Linked DNA regions of Homo sapiens: region 2 is linked to region 1. The links are contacts of gene promoters, found by promoter capture Hi-C in blood cells and fetal thymus (Javierre and others, 2016). All regions are on one chromosome and are shown on one strand. The core of a region is centred on a gene start or on the middle of the fragment in contact, and the rest is flanking DNA. Distances in the headings are between cores, read along the strand shown. Region 1 holds the start of KRT2 (keratin 2). Region 2 holds the start of KRT6B (keratin 6B).

Region 1 (3,083 bases), core at 139-2,638:
ACTCTAGACCATTTCCCTCCCCGCATCCTGGTTGAATTTCCAGCCAAGATCCCATAAATTCTGGGGAAAACCGAAAGCAGCCATCTGCTGGCACTGCTCGCAAGGGTGCTGAGTATGAGAGTCCCAGAGGGCAGGGCTCCTCAGCCTGATTTTTAAGAGCCTTGTAAATCCCTGCCTATTTCAAGGCAGATAAACCAAGACAGGTTCGTCTGCCTTGAAATAGGAGAAAAGCCAGTAACACTCCGAAGTGACACCAATAAAGACTTTATGGATCACAAAACTGAGAACGCTTCTCTTGAAGGCAGGAATTTCCTGCATTCCCAAGCAGATATTTCAGGTTCAGCTTCCCAGAGTTTAGTAATCACTGCTAAGGAAGGAAACACTATCTCAGAAGACGATGGCTTCCAAAACCTGCTGCTCCAGTGGCCTGTCCCAAGGATCAGTTCAATACTTGCCTATATCCATTTTTTATGGTTTTCAGAATTTTCCATAAATATTATTTATATGGACTGTAACAATAAGGTCAAAGGGACAAATGCTTCCTAAGTGCAGGCTGTTATGGGAAATGTAACCCACAAAGCTGGCGTCTTTTCCATCTGGAAACCGCAAATGACCCAGGCTACTGCGGTACACCACTGGCTCCTAAGAAATACAAATCTGTGCCATTTTCTTTTTGGTTGGCTCTGGAAGTGAAGTGGCCTGAGCATCAGTGGGAGCCGTCTTCTCCAGAGTCACCTTGTCAATGAAGGAGGCAAATTTGTTGTTGAGAGTTTTGATCTGCTCACGCTCTTGGGCCTTCACATTCTGGATCTCTGGGTCAACTTTCACGTTGAGAGGCTGCAGGAGGCTCTGGTTGACAGAGACTTCGTGGATGCCACCAGGGTATCCTCCAGGCCCAAAGCCACCAGGACCCCCTAAACCTCCAACACCACCAGGGCCCCCAAAACCTCCAAAGCGGCCTCCACCAAAGCCGCCTCCACCGAAACCACCACCACTGAAGCCGCTGCCACCTCCAAAGCTGCTGCCGCCTCCAAAACCACCTCCTCTGCCACCAAATCCACCAGCGGCGCCAAAGCCACCACCTCCTCCAGCCACACTAATGGAGATGCTCTTGGTCCCTCCAAGGCCAACAAGACTCCGACTGCCAAAGCCGCCTCCACCGAAGCCCCCGCCACCACCACCATGGCGGCTCAAGCAGGAGAAGCTGGAAGTTGATCTCCGGCTTCCACCAGACACCACAGCTGAGCCGCTGCTGAAGCCCCGGAATCCTCCTCCACCTCCTCCTCTTCCTCGAGATTTGCAAGAGATCTGACAACTCATGATGCCTTTGTCCAGGGAGGAAAGTCACAGGCTCTTGAGAAGAGTCAAGGCTGGAGACTCAACTGTGCTGCTGGGAGGCTTTCAGGGTCCCCTTATATACCTGCCAACTAGGTGTTGTGTACATGGGTGTGGATCCACTTATACGTGGGTTTGGTCTGCCTGGGAGCTATTCCTGGTGCGTGATTATCAAGCTAATAGCCATTAAAAATCTACTAATCAGCTCCATCCCAGAACTTGCTTTGATTGCAAACTTCTGTTTATCTGGGCATCTGTCATGCAATTTGATTTTTGTAAAATCATCAAAAGAGGAGATCAGGGTTTGGGTTTCTCAATCTGGAAAAGGACCTTCTGCAGAATGCTGCTCCCTGTTCTGGACCTGCCCAAGGGAAGTCAGCTACCACCCATGCTTGTGCAGGCTCACCACCCCAGTTCAACAATGAAAGGGATGGTGGGTTTAGAGACTGCAAGAGCCCCTCAATGCCAGCCTTGTAGTTCTCTTGTAGTTTCCCTCTTTCCCAGAAAGAGCCCCAACTAGTGCAGGGGAGACTGCAAAGGTCTTAAATGACCTTAAATGCTAATTGGAAATCGACCTCCTCTTACAGAAAGTAATTGGCCTCGGATACTGCAAAAGAGGTGTCGATTTTCAAAATATCTTGGCTCTTTTCTTCCCATGCCACACCAAAAATACACAATAACTAGGCACCGAATAGAGATTTTTTATAACCATGATGGTTTGTATAACCATCAACTGTCCCTTGTCTACATGAACACCCAGAGGTTGAGAGGTATGAGAAAAGTTTCGCTGTTTCTGGACCTGTGTGATGCGGGACACCAAGTGAAAGTTTGCAAACCAAGATCCAAGTGTATATTGATTCAGTCAGTCAGTAATCACGTATTGCCTGGTGATCCTGGGAAGTGATTAGGAAGTCAGGCTCTTCAATGACATCCACAGATGCTTGAGGATAAGAAGACCATCCAGCCTGCACAGAGCACTCACACTTAAACTCAACCACTTCCTCTGTCCATGTGGCCAACTATGTGGGAGAGGTTCTTGGAGTAATAAAACTGAATTTAGTCAGAAATTCTGGGTTTGAGTCCCAGTTTTGCTATTTATTGGCTGTGAGGCCTTGAATGAAACCCTGAGGCTCTGTGGTCCCAGCTATAAAATGGGAAATTCGTATGAAGTGTTTTGAAAACCACCGTGCACAATAAAATGTCAGTATCATTATTGTTTGGGGTGAGACAAAGATAATTCCTTTTCCTTTCCCCCTTGCCATGTTACTGTCTTCTGGCTACTATGAACATGCACTCTCCACAGGCATCATAAATTACAGAACCAGGTGGTTCAGATCCTAGTACCAAGTTATCACAAAATAATGTAAAAAACATAAGTTTGAGGTCAAATCCCAATTTTCTTGTATCTTAGTTAAATGACCTCAGATAATCCATAATCCTCTTCAAGCCTCAGTTTCCTCATCTATAAAAAGTGAACAAGAATAATAAGAATATGGCTACTGTGAAAACAGAACAATACACACATGTGCTAAACACAGTTCCTAGTTCATAGCAGAAACTCAATAAATGCTATTCACCCTTCTGCATCTTCCCCGCCAAGTTTCCAATCCTGTCTTAACTACTATTCAAGGTATTTAATTTGCAGTAAAAGAATGCTGAAGGAAACAAAGCTACATGTCTCCTCAATTATTTTTTCCAATCTGGTTTGCATAATTATAATCATGCAAACAAATCATGAAGCTAACAGC
Region 2 (3,082 bases), core at 76-2,575, 200 kb before region 1:
CCACTGAGGTGTTCTCGCACTGTAAGCTATTGATCATCAGTGAGTTTCAACATTTCTTCTTTTCTTTTTCCAAGCACAATCACAAATCTAGTTTAAAAATACTAATTACCTGATATATTGTACACAGTTTTTTTTACCGAGAGGATCTTAGTTAGGAGGGATATTAGATGTTGACTCATGATTACATTTCAGTCTACTTTCCCATTTAGTGTCTCCTCTCAAATATTCTGATGTTATGGTCATTCTCTGTTTTTAAAATTAATTAGCATTTATCCATGTTTTACAGTTGTTTCTATGTCCCTTTTTTTCTTAATCCAGCCAGATTATCTTTTCCTTTTCTTTCTAAATCTTTTTCCTCTTACCCAGACCCCAGAGTGTAATTTACCAGCCCATATACTCCTGGCATTTGCTTTGTAATCTCTTAAACACTTCAGAGGGGAGAATTAACCTACTCCACTCTCTGATGGCCTCATCTGTGCTTCAGGGTTATGAAAAGTTATGGCTCTCCCTAGGCAGGAGTGAGGGCCACTCCAGATATCCCATGGGGGAGTGATGCCCATCTGTGCTGCCTCCTGTGCACCGAGAGCCACCTGCACTCTCTGCAGAGCTGGGCTGAGTCCCCTTCTCCCTCCCTCCTAGGGTCTCTCCGGCAGGAAGGTGTTGCTCTTCTGGTCTGGGGACCCTGAAGTGCCCGATGGAGGGCATGGCACTGGCTCACCTTGTCGATGAAGGAGGCAAACTTGTTGTTGAGGGTCTTGATCTGCTCACGCTCCTCGGCCCGCACCCGCTGGATGGCGGGGTCAATTTGCAGGTTGAGGGGAGTCAGGAGACTCTGGTTGACAGTGACCTCTTGGATGCCTCCAGGGGGGCACACAGGGAAGCCAGGGCCCCCAAAGCCACCAGCAAGGCCGGCTCCACCACCCAGACCAAAGCCAATGCCGGCTCCACCACCGAAACCAAATCCACTCCCGGCGCCACCAAAGCCATAGCTGCCTCCGGCTCTGCTGCCATAGCCGCCACTGATGGCACAGCTGCCCCCTCCAATGGAGATCCTCTTGGAGCCCCCCAGGCCATACAGACTGCGGCTGCCAAAGCCAGCTCCTCCACATGCGCCACCCAGGCCACCACTGCCCCTGGAGCGGGACACGGAGATGCTGCTGAAGCCAGAGCGGCTGACCCCAGGGAGCCTGGCTGAGTTGGCACTGAAACCCCGGCGGCTGCTGCTGTGGCTCCTGATGGTGGTGGATGTGCTGGCCATGGTTCCAGGAGATGAGAGGGCTTAGGAGAGTGTGAGAGGCTGGAGGCGAGAGGGAGGAGAAGCAGGACGAGGAATCGGACTCCAGTAGCAGCTTATATATGGAGAGCATGGGCTGGGCCCAGTCCTGGAAGGTGAGCTTGCAGGTTGGGAAGGGCTGGGCTTTACAAATAGTGAGATCACACCTGCATTATTACAAAAGTTATGAAATACCGAGATTGCATTTTTCGCTTCCTTTAGTCAGGCAAAATGTTCCTGCCTCCAGCTTTGACTTGAGATCTCAGCACAATAAGAGTATTCTCAATTCATGAAGTTGGAATTAGTCACTGTCTTCAGCAAAGGTTCTGCATGCTAGGCTGTTTATCGACATGCCCTGAGTGCCCTCCTCTTCCCAGTCTGACTTTCTTCCAGCCTTGCTGTTGGAGATCACAGGCACTGTATTGTGAATTCCTTAACAGAAATATTACAATTTCCCCATAATTGTTTCACCTTTTAGGTGCAATTTTAAACAGGTAGAGAAGCAGAACACTGCAATGGGCCTGTATATACCTGTCACCTGCTTCCATGATGATCATCTCATGGCCAGCCTGATTTCTTTCATACTTCAACCCTATTTCCTCTTCCATTCTAGATTGTTTGAAAGGAAATTCCAGAAGTCATATTATGTCTTCAATCAATAATTCAATATTAATATCTAAATAATAGGTCCTTTAAAAAATCAAAACACTATTTTTATATCTTAAAAATTTACATACTAATTAAAATGAACAAGTGTCTATTTAGTCTTCAAGCAGTCCTATTTTTGATATATATTTCTTATATTTTGGTGTCCCAATCAGAGTCAAAATAAGCTCTATAAACGTTGTATTTGAGTGATATATCCTTTAAATCATTGAAATTTAAAAATCTCCCTTCATTTCTTACTTTTATTTGTTAAATAAAACAGGTTAACTGTTCATTGTACTTTTTCATTCTTGGGATTTTTCTAATTGCATACCCCTATTGTTTCCTTTAATATGAGACTCTAACCTTCATATTTCATATTAAAATTAGAAGCTTATTAAGATTCTGTCTATATTTAAACATTCTAGAAGTAAATGTAGTAGATTGCCCATTTAAATTTTGAATAGTACTATTTGCACAATTATTTACATGTTTACAAATTGAATACATGATACATGTTTTAAAAAATTTTTTGTAAAACATGCTAAACAACAAAATAATATAGCTCAAGGCCATTCCCCAGTTACCCAATTCCTATCTATGGAGGAAGTAATGTTAGCAGTTCCTTGTGTATCCTTGTATCTTTACTTGGATATTTTCCTGTGCTTTTCCTGGGCCATGGGTGACATGTCTGTGCATATGTGTTTGTGTCAACGTGTGTTTGTATGGGTGAGGAAGAGGTGGAGGGAGTTGGCATATATAGAGAGGGAGCCTGCATTGTAGAAAGGTATATAAATAAATACATGAATGTTTTGTGTGTATGTGTTTGAGTGTGTTTTATGTATATAAAATATTTCATGTATTCATATGTACAAAACATAAAAATATTGTCTTTTTCAATTGTGATTGTGTTGTGTCTGCTTTGTCTCCCACATCTATGTTTTCTGATTCTCTTTTTAACAGTCTCTAGTCTCTTTTTCATAGCTGTTTGCTTTTCCCAGTTATTCGAGGACATTTCTCCCAAATGTCCATTACTGTCTGTTTACCAATGTCTTTCCTCCTTATGCCGCTTTCAATTTGGGCTTCATTTCTTTTTTCTTTTCTTTTTTTTTTTTACACAGAGTCTTGCTCTGTCACCCAGGCTGGAGTGCAATGGCATGATCT

Evidence for each region. The method cuts DNA at HindIII sites, captures the fragments that hold promoters and counts their contacts. A CHiCAGO score of 5 or more calls a contact.
Region 2: the fragment with the promoter of KRT6B here is called in contact with the fragment with the promoter of KRT2 in region 1 in 4 of 17 cell types (endothelial precursors, naive B cells, monocytes and 1 more); the score reaches 7.6 in endothelial precursors.

Annotation. Positions count from the first base shown.
Region 1 is chr12:52,650,823-52,653,905 of GRCh38, forward strand. KRT2 (keratin 2) reads right to left here and starts at 1,389. Exons shown (of 9, transcript NM_000423.3): 1 at 736-1,389. The coding sequence starts at 1,320. The HindIII fragment of the contact is 4,749 bases long and covers 1-3,083 here.
Region 2 is chr12:52,450,821-52,453,902 of GRCh38, forward strand. It overlaps KRT6B (keratin 6B), which reads right to left and starts at 1,326. Exons shown (of 9, transcript NM_005555.4): 1 at 719-1,326. The coding sequence starts at 1,258. The HindIII fragment of the contact is 8,192 bases long and covers 1-2,309 here.